Regions from separate parts of the Homo sapiens genome. Here regions 1 and 2 are each linked to region 3. Evidence: promoter capture Hi-C in 16 types of primary human blood cells and fetal thymus (Javierre and others, 2016). All regions are on one chromosome and are shown on one strand. Each heading gives the region's core, a stretch centred on a gene start or on the middle of the fragment in contact. The rest is flanking DNA. Distances are from core to core; before and after follow the strand shown. Region 1 holds the start of TAF8 (TATA-box binding protein associated factor 8). Region 2 overlaps TOMM6 (translocase of outer mitochondrial membrane 6). Region 3 holds the start of UBR2 (ubiquitin protein ligase E3 component n-recognin 2).

The links. The method cuts DNA at HindIII sites, captures the fragments that hold promoters and counts their contacts. A CHiCAGO score of 5 or more calls a contact.
Region 1: the fragment with the promoter of TAF8 here is called in contact with the fragment with the promoter of UBR2 in region 3 in 1 of 17 cell types (erythroblasts); the score reaches 5.2 in erythroblasts.
Region 2: a contact is called between a fragment that was not itself captured here and the fragment with the promoter of UBR2 in region 3, in 6 of 17 cell types (total CD8 T cells, non-activated CD4 T cells, naive CD4 T cells and 3 more). The highest score is 8.7, in total CD8 T cells.

Annotation. Positions count from the first base shown.
Region 1 is chr6:42,048,873-42,052,191 of GRCh38, reverse strand. TAF8 (TATA-box binding protein associated factor 8) reads right to left here and starts at 1,668. Exons shown (of 9, transcript NM_138572.3): 1 at 1,606-1,668; 2 at 679-835. The coding sequence starts at 1,650. It also overlaps a transcript of CCND3 not described here. RefSeq lists enhancers at 942-1,493, 1,163-1,712, 1,494-2,045 and a silencer at 3,182-3,319. The HindIII fragment of the contact is 9,233 bases long and covers 1-3,319 here.
Region 2 is chr6:41,788,899-41,792,049 of GRCh38, reverse strand. It overlaps TOMM6 (translocase of outer mitochondrial membrane 6), which reads right to left. Exons shown (of 3, transcript NM_001382294.1): 2 at 2,714-2,818; 3 at 2,155-2,482. The coding sequence ends at 2,722. It overlaps USP49 (ubiquitin specific peptidase 49), which reads left to right. Exons shown (of 8, transcript NM_001286554.2): 8 at 1-2,154. Among named protein-coding and RNA genes, the nearest start is that of TOMM6, 2.8 kb to the right of the region's middle. The HindIII fragment of the contact is 1,092 bases long and covers 1,154-2,245 here.
Region 3 is chr6:42,562,727-42,566,104 of GRCh38, reverse strand. It overlaps UBR2 (ubiquitin protein ligase E3 component n-recognin 2), which reads right to left and starts at 2,076. Exons shown (of 47, transcript NM_001363705.2): 1 at 1,708-2,076. The coding sequence starts at 1,785. RefSeq lists a silencer at 683-812 and enhancers at 1,845-2,364, 2,435-2,514. The HindIII fragment of the contact is 771 bases long and covers 1,989-2,759 here.

The DNA.
Region 1 (3,319 bases), core at 419-2,918, 510 kb after region 3:
AGAGCTTAAAATCTCCCCAGCACTGAATGTTTTATATATACATCTCACTTACACTCACAAATCCATGAGGTAGAAACTGTTATCCCATTTCAGAAATGAGGAAATTGAGGTTCAGGAGATTCAGTGGCTTGCCCAAGCTATTAAGTGACAGAGTGATGATGTACACCAAGTCTATCTGATTCTAAAGCCTGTAAGTCACTTCATTATGCTCTTTTCTGTTTTTGTTGTTGTTGTTGGAGATGGAGCCTCACAGGCTGGAGTGCAGTGGTGCGATCTCAGTTCACTGTAACCTCTGCCTCCCAGATTCAAGCGATTCTCCTGCCTCAGTCTCCCGAGTGGCTGGGATTATAGACACCTGCCACCACGCCCAGCTAATTTTTTTGTGTGTTTTTTAGTAGAGACGGGGTTTCGCCACGTTGGCCAGGCTGGTCTTGAACTCCTGACTTCAGGTGATCCACCCGCCTCAGCCTCCTAAAGTACTGGGATTACAGGCGTGAGCCACCACGCTCGGCCCATTGTGCTGTTTTCTTTTCTCAACTTTTTACATTAAAAAAAATTTTTTTTCTCCCCTCTTAAGAAAAAAGTTTGTTTCTTAAATCCTCTCAAACACTATCACAAAGCAGGGCACAGAACTGATGTTGGGGTTGACTCCAAGGCCAAGTGTTTCCATGTACTCACAGCTCTGCAGCATCTCTGTCAGCGTTTCCACGGATGCTTTCTCGGCACTCTCAAACCCTGCCTCTGTCAGCAAGGAGCTCACAACCACCTGCAGGGTTCTCCTCCGGGCCAGATGATAGTTATCGGCAGGGTTAGTGGACTGTTTACTTCCCGATCTCTGTGAATCAGCAGAGAGATTTTCATCCACAGGAGAAGGATGCAATCACATAGTTCATACGTGGTCAACGGCAAGCAAAGTTATTTTACTAAATAATTTTATTTTAAAAATCAGTGCTTAATGTTTAGATTTACAGATCTTGGCCAACTGAGTAAAAATTGAGCACCCAAGGTGCTTTAAATACAGAGACCACTTCTCCGCTTACCTAAAACGTACAGTCCCAATGAGATAAAATAGCAGGTCTTTTACTTTCTACTTTAGCAGATTATTAGAATACATAGCTGAAGAAACACGCATGATGGGATTAAGACGTGTCCCGCAGAAAAAACAGGATCCCTCTCTTGTGCCTCCCATCTTCACACCATTTCATTGAAAGGGAAAATGAAAACAGTAACAAGAGGTGACCGCGAGGAGAGGAGGGCAAAAGATAAAAGCACAAAAAAGTAAGAAAGCTAAATATTTTGAAACGGGAATGCCTTTCAACTTTGGCCGGCCAATAAGAAGGCGAAAACGGCATCTTCAGACCAATCGGGGGTGTTCCGGGCTCCCAACCCCCAACAGCGAACGAGCCAATCAAGACACAGGTCCGCCAACTCCGGAGGCCGCAGCCAAGTCCCAAGGAGGGGGCGCCTACGGCCTGAAAACACCCTCCGCCAGTCGGAGCTCATGATGGGGCTGAATTTCTGGGCATTATCTTGTTGCTCAGTCGAGGGGAAAGTTGCAGGATACCCAAACTCTCTCGGCTCCGAGCCCGCGCTTCCTGCCCTTACCGTTCCGGAGCCACCGGCCCCAGCTGTGGCCGCCGCGTCGGCCATCTTGTTCTGGCGTAGTGTGCGCGAGCGCGGGGCGCGATGGGACTTGTAGTCGCGGGGCGGGGCGGGGCGGGGCGGCGTGCGCCCCTTGGTTTTCCGAAGCCCAGTCGGTTGGGGGACGCCTCCGGTGACCCCGGCTCACGTGACTTTTTTTTTTTTTTTTTGGATACAGAGTCTTGCTCCGTTTCACAGGCTAGAGTGCAATGGCGCGATCTCGGTTCACTGCAACCTCCACCTCCCAGGCTCAAGCGATCCTCCCGCCTCAGCCTCCGGAGTAGCTGGGATTACAGGCGGGCACCACCACGCCCCGCTAGTTTTTGTATTTTTAGTAGAGACCGAGTTTCGCCATGTTGGCCAGGCTGGTCTCGAACACCTAAGCTCAAGCAGTCCGCGGCCTCGGCCTCACAAGGTGCTGGGATTACAGGCGTGAGCTACCGCGCCAGCCTCACGTGACCTTTTGAGAGTGAAGTGTTCTGGGGCCTTCAGTGGCTTGGTTGTGGGCCAGGAAAACGCGCCCGGTTTCACTGAGTTAAAAGAAACCTATTTTAATATGAAAATCGGTTCTTATAAAGAGCATACCAGGAGATCATCTACACTCGCAGGGTTTTCCAAACTTGTCTTATTATTAGTAACACCTGGCTGGGCCCAGCCCAATCCCAGTGACTTCACTCTCTGGAAGAGGGGCTTGGGAATCTTTCTCATTAAGGAGCTCCCCAGATGATTCTTCTGAGCGAGTAATGTTGGGAAACCCTGGAGCATCCAGCCTGGTGATTTTGTGCTGAGGGCCGCCCCGCCTGTCAATGGCCCACTTGGAAGTAGAGCCTGGACCACCTAGTCCAAGTCTATCGCTGCATCCTGCTGCCTTCGCGCCCTCGACCCGCAAGTATTTGCGAGGCAAGTCTAGGGGGCGGGAGACTTGTCCCTTGCCGCCTCACTCCCAGGGCGTGGGGTGCCCGCGGCTACCAGTGGTTTTCTCCCTAGCCTGTCAGCCCCTCTAGCTGCGCCGTGTTCGTCCCCATTTGCAGGTGCCTGGCAGGACGCAGATTCTGGGCTTGGATCCTAACACTAGCCAGCTATGGTACTTCGGGCACTTGACCTTAATCCTCAGTGTGTCTCAGTTTCCTCTTCTGTAAAGCTGGGGGAAAGATGAGATGATACACAGAAAGAGTCTGTCACAGTGCCTGACGTGTAGTAAGAGTCAAGAAATCGGCCGGGCGCGGTGGCTCTCGCCTGTAATCCCAGCACTTTGAGAGGCCGAGGCGGGTGGATCACCTCAGGTCAGGAGTTCGAGACCAGCCTGACCAACATGGTGAAACCCCGTGTCTACTAAAAATACACAAAATTAGCCGGGCGTGGCGGCGTGCGCCTGTAGTCCTAGCTACTCGGGAGGCTGAGGCAGGAGAATAGCTTGAATCCGGGAGGCGGAGGTTGCAGTGAGCCGAGATCGCGCCACTGCACTCCAGCCTGGGCGACAGAGGGAGACTCCATCTCAAAAAAAAGAAAAAGAAAAAGAAGTCGCTCCTCATGATGTTGTTTACTTCCTGGATAGCACGTGGAGGAGTTGCCAACGCCGGGAGGCAGCGGTCCGGGAACCCGTGCTGCCCCGGCCCCGCCGCCCACACCTGAGCCTCCGTGGCGCCCCGCCCCCGCACCTATGCCGCGTGGGGCGGGG
Region 2 (3,151 bases), core at 450-2,949, 770 kb after region 3:
TGAAACTTCAACATATGGTGTTTAAAAGTTTCCCACTCAAATGCACACTTGAAAATTGGGTCCCTCAGCCTCATTACTGAACTAAATAAGTGAAGAAGTTGTATCTTTGGGGTAAAACTTTCCAGGGCCACTTAATTTTTTAACCAGTTAAGTACGCATCTTCCTGGTGGTTCAGACTTTTTAAGTCAGTGCTAAAGCTGAAAAGCGCCTTCTAAATATGACTGTGAGTTTAGTTTGTATCTTACATTTAGTAACTGTTCTGTTGGGCCAGGACTATGACTTTAATTACTATGTACTTATTCATCCCACACTCTGCACTAAATACACCATAGCTACTATAGCATTGTGGCAGGCACTCATTTTTGTGGACTCATTCCATACTTCTGCTGGCATATTTCGTTTAAAATCTAGCTAAAGATTTTCATAGTACTGTGTTAACTAGCCAGGGCTGAAAAGTGTGACAGGATATCAAATTGACTTTCCTTGGGGAAAATGTTGCTTTGGCAATAGTGAAGTCCAACTCCTTCATTTACAGAATTAGTGATTACTCATCAATTTTTGAAAGTTGTAGATTAAGTAGTTTTATTTACTAAATTCTTAACCACTTTGAAGATTTAAGCCAGTTGAAATGAAACATTGGCTGGATGCAGTTGGCTAGCACCTGTAATCCCAACACTTTGGGAGGCCAAGGTGGGAGGATTGCTTGAGGCCAGGAGCTCAAGACCAGCCTGGGAAACATAGATTTGAAATCTTTTCAAAAATGTATAAAAATTTAATAAATAAATAAATGAATCCTTACTCAACCATAATTATGGCTTTAAAACCCAACCAACAGTAAACACTTACTTGAAGCCAAAACAGTAAATTTTGAATGAAATTTGAATTATGCTTTTGGAAGCTGCCATGTCTTAATTCTTGCTGGATTTTGATTTTCAATTTTGGAAGTTTTTATCAAAACTGTCCAGTCATGAGTATATCAGGTAGCAGCCTTTAAGGATCTAAGTTTCATTCCTATAAAGAACAGGAGGTGCTGGTATTTCTTGTCTTAGCAAGTGATCTGATGCAGGTCTAAATGGGGGTTAGCATCTATACTATGGCTTAAAAGTTTCCTCCTTGGTCACCATTTGGGAGGTGATGGCTTCAAAGCTAAGCTTTGCTCTCATGTGACCCTTCTTTATCTTAATACCCAATAAGATATAAACCTCTCAGAGTCAACCCAGTGTAGACTCAAAGGGTCTTAGCTTCATCTATCAGATAAGATCTATCTGATTTATACAAAGAATGGTGCTGTTTTTATATACATACTAAAAAAATCTAATTCTCAAACAATTTTCTTAATATTTATGCCAGCAAGGTCAGGAAAGACTATTTTGTCCTGTTTAACTTTAGTAGTGAACAAACTGCTAGAGACATCTGTCATCCTTAACAGGCCACTGTGGTCCTTATATACTGACCCTCCTTTCCAATTAACGTCCTTTAATCCCATACTAGTTCCATAAGAGACTTGGCACATAAAAGCAGTATTTTTTTTAATGCCTAGTAAACTGGCCAGAAAAAAATATTGCCATGGTGGACCTGTTTCTATCCACCTCTTTCTATGGCTATATAAGTCTATACATGCCAGTTCCGTACATACTCCATTTCCAAAGAGCCCCCAAACCCTGGACAGTAGCACTACCATGAATTTTAGGGTCACAAAACATTTCCTTCTGAAGGAAGCAGCTGCCTCAGCAGTGTCACTTTAGTGACCACTGCCCAGGCTTACTTCACTTTGCCTCCCCCTACACATCACTGCCCTCTTTCTGCCACCAAACCTCACTATTCCAGCAATGATGCCTCCCTGGTGTCTGGAAAACCCATCTGGTGCACTAAAATGCTATGCAACACCAAATGGCTTCTTCCCCTAATATTGCTCAACAATGTAAATTCTTCAAGAATAAACTTCATGCTAGGTTAACATCAATGTATGGTTACAGCTTCCTTTTTTTTTTTTCCCTTTTAAAATGAAGCAAACCACCTCCATTAAAATCCATGTTTTGGGGCTTGTTTTTGTCTCTCAAGTGTGAAATATAAATCATGTTTTTATGATTTTTGTAAATCTTTTTACACCTTGTTTTTGTAAGCAAAAGTTTCTTATTAAAAGAATAAAATGACTGCCTTTGTGTGCGGTATTTATTTCAAATGTTTTTTAAAACAGCACTGTTATTTCTCAGGACAAGAGCAAAAATCACCCCCTGCAGAAGCTTGGGAACTATGTACAGAACTTTACAGAATAGAGGCAATACTTTAGCTTAAGCCTGTCTGCTGACCAGAGAATGGAATTCTGCGTGGACTCAAGGAACAAAAGGAAACTAGGCAGGGAAGGGGAAGAAAAGTGCCCATCTGAATCAAACTTCAGCTGCCATCAGGGCACATCTTGTGGTGGTCACAGATTGTAGGCTGTTTTTTGGAAGATTCGGGTTCAGCACAGGATTCCATTTGTCTGCAATCAGATGATAAGACGACAGGTGGCATTAGAACTGTAAAAGTATGGGAGGGAAACTGGTAAGAGATACTTAAATCCCTTTCAACATCTGAAAACACATTTAACTAGGAATAGTTAAGGGTTTTACATCACATTCTTTTGTACATTTCATGAATACTTGACAGAAAACATTGCTTCACCCAGTCTCTAGGTCTCCTAAGACACGCATGGGTGTAGTTCAGTGCTTACCTACTTGGCTACACCCCTGGCTGAGGTGCCATGAGGTCAATGTCACTCAAGTTCCTGGCCAGCCAAACTCCCGCAGCAAAGAGTCCCAAATTTAGTATCAAGTTCCTGGAAAAACAATGTGTTTTATTAACCCTGTGGTCACTGAGTCAGTTGTACAGTTAACGAAATGTACTGGGGGGAAAGGCTTCCATCACCACCTTCCCGAGGCGTTGATACGTGGTTGTGACGGCAGGTTGCTCAAGACCCACGTGGGAATTTGGAGTTCATTTTTGTGCCTAGTAAGTGTAAGGTCAGGCTGGGCGCGGTGGTTCACGCCTGTAATCCCAGCACTTTGGAAGGCCAAGGCAGGCGGATCACGAAGTCAGGAGCTCGAGACCAGCCTGGCCAACATGGTGAAACCCCGTCTCTACTAAAAATACAAAAATTAGCTGGGCGTGG
Region 3 (3,378 bases), core at 827-3,326:
AGTGAGAGAAAAAAAATCAAAACAGTACTTTGAGGTAAGCAACAGATATCAATTAGAAGAGGCATGGAGAGCAAACAGCTGTCATTATTATTTAACAGTTTACTTGTAACACTACTTTCATTTTCTTTTTTCAAATCTCCGATAAACGAAAGGCAGAAATTCCTTGAGTTGTACAACATTAAGTAGAAAGTAAATGAAAACAGACCTAGGCTAAACAAGTAAGTAGGTTTAAAAAAACACACCAAGGCAGGGCGCAGTGGCTCACGCCTGTAATCCCAGCACTTTGGGAGGCCCAAACAGGTGGATCACCTGAGGTCGGGAGTTTGAGACCACCCTGACCAACATGGAGAAACCCCAACTCTACTAAAAATACAAAATTAGCCGGGCGTGGTGGTGCATGCCTGTAATCCCAGCTACTCGAGGGGCTGAGGCAGCAGAATCGCTTGAACCCGGGAGACTGAGGTTGCGGTGAGCTGAGATCGCGCCACTGCACTCCAGCCTGGGCATCGAAAGCGAAACTCCGTCTCAAAAACAAAAACAAACAACAACAAAACACACCCAAACAAGCAAAGATTCAGCATTTAACAACGTATTTCTTTAAAGTCTTCACCTCTACTCCTGACATTTCTTTCTACCCGGACTTAATGTCCTCACCAATTCACGCAAAATAACTACTCACTGACCAACAGCTCCACAGTGCCCCCAATCCCAAATTTTGTTCGTAGCATTCAGATTGCTGACTTTTATTCACGGGTCACTCCCTTCCTAGCAGCCTTTTTAATTGGAGGTCTTAGAGGTGGGGCCCAAGCTGTCTTGGTCCATTCATAATCATTCTCGGCAATCTCTTCTAATGGGTGTTCCTACAACTCTGCTATTTACACTAGCATATTCATATTACAGTTTTAATGCAATAGTGCGTTTGAACGGTTTTACGTTTGGAATATAACTGCTCCTACTACACTGTGACCAGTTCTCACGTTTAGCTTATACAGTATTTGTTGAAAGCTGCTCTATCAACGTTATATAACATTTGTTCTCCATCCAATTACCCCTAACTCCTAGAAAAAATATTTTTAAAATTTCCCAGACTCCACGACTACTTTCTCATACTCAGTAAACTTTCCACACATGCATCAACGTTGTCAACTAATCAAACCGGTGCAAAAAAAAAAGATAGCACTGAAACGGATAACGAAGGGTAGTGTCGTTTGCCTTCTTGGTGCCTGGGGCAGTCCCAAAAACAAAAGAGGGGCTCGGTTAGGGTGGCATGTTTAGTCGGAGGAGCACACGGCTTCGCTTGTCTCAGGAAAAGCAATTAACTAGATAAACTAGGGCGATTATACCAAAAACACAAGAAGCGTCTCTTCTCCTCTTCCAAGAGCTGATATAAAGGGCAAAGGCCCATGTGTTGGGAGACTTAATGGGAGGCTGGGGGAAAGGAGGTATGATGGAAGAGCCGTGGGTTCTCCTGGGCAGAAAGGGAAAGTAAACGTAGTTAGTGCACAGCGCAGCTCTGGCAGCTGTTGAAAATGGAAAGAGAGGGGCAGGATCGGTGGCCTCCCCGGGCTATTACCCCACAAGGCGAGGGCCGGCACAGCTGTTTCCCCAAGTCTGGGTCGGGCTGCTCCAGGACGTCCAGGAGTCGGTTCCTCCCCACAGGCGCGGCCTGCGAGGGGCAGACGCACCCGCCCGGGTTCCGGCACTCACCCCCGCAATCTCCTCGGCCGAACATTCCAGCAAGCTCCGGTCGATGGCCTGCACCTCTGGCTCTAGCTCCGACGCCATCTTCTCTCCTCCTCCTCCCCAGCGCTACCGCCGCCCGGAGAGCTGCAGCCTCACCTCGGCCCCGGCGGCCTCGACTGCCACCCCTGCCCCAGGCAATCAGTCCCGGAGCCGTCCAAGTGGCTGCAGGTGGAGCAACAGAGGGAGAGAAGGGTGACGTGAACCGGAAAGGAAGGACAGCGGCCTCCTGCGCTCCCTCCCAAGCTTAGCGCCCAAGAGTCAAGTCACTGGCTCGTCCCTGACCCAGGGAAGGACACAGAAAACCCCAGGCCTGACACTCTCGCTGGCCACTACCGCGTCCTGCACCAGGAAAGGGGCAATAACACCCAGGAGGGGAAGCGGAGCTTTCTGGGTACTGTAGTTCTGGGTGCTGTAGGTACAGCACAGCCGGGAAAAAGGTGGCGCCCTAACACGGTGCCCCTCGAATGCATTGTGGGAGTTGTAGTCCATTCTCAAGGGGCGCTGGCTTAAATGGCAGATAAGCGGGCGGGGCTTTTCTGCCCAACGAGAATCATGGGAAGACAGTCGCGGAAAGCAGCGCCCCCTGGAAAAAAGCCAAAGAGAAAGATACTGTGGGAACTGTAGTTTTATTCTCCGAATCTCGTTTGTTCATTTTTGTATCCCCAGCTTCAAGAACACTGCCTGGCACATGGTAGACCCTCAAGGACTTGCCAGTCTGGCATAGGGTAGGCACTCAAATACTTGTCAAAGGAATGAATGAATTACATTCTATTCCTGTGGTTCTATGTCCTGTCATCCATCGAACCCATATCTTTTATACGAGTAATGGAGGTGAACATTACCCACTTTTTTGAAGGTTTAAAACATGTTTTAAAAAATTTTTCAAAAACTTTAGTGATGACCACTTATAAACTTTATCACAAATCTTGCTGCAAAGGAAAAAGAGTCTATTAGGCCAATTAAAAGATTTCCTCTTGATAGAGACATTTAATTTCTACAGATAATCAGACCAAGCTTGGTGGCTCATGCCTGTAATTCCAGCACTTTGGGAGGCCGAGGGGGGCAGACTACTTGAGCCCAGGAGTTTGAGACCAGTTTGGACAACATAGCGAGACCCTCTTGATAAAAATCAAAAAATTAGCCAGGTGTGGTGGCACGCCTGTAGTCCCAGCTACTCGGGAAGCTGAGGCAGGAGGATTGCTTGAGCCCAGGCAGTTGAGGCCATCGTGAGCTGTGATCAGCCCACTGCACTCCAGCCTGCGTGACACAGCTGAGACCCTGTATCAAAAAAGAAGGAAAAAAAAAAAAAAGAAATAGGTAAACATTGTTAGACTAGCTATCAAAGAAAACTATGTTTAGTTAAAGGTAATTAGACTCTTGACTGACAGCTGGGTGACTGGGCTTCTTAGAAGTCTTCAGTCTCTAGAGTTTGTCAGAAAATTGTTTATACCTTTTGTCAAGTGTGTTAATTTATTCCCAGAAGTAGGTTGTAAATTACATATAGGGGGGAAAAGTTCTGAGCCAGACCAGGTTTAGGACATGTTTATGTTTATGTTGTTTTGGGATTTTTTTTAAACCAATACTATGATATTAACCAGTTTTTTAAAAAAGGAAATAAGAAACTGCCTGTATCCC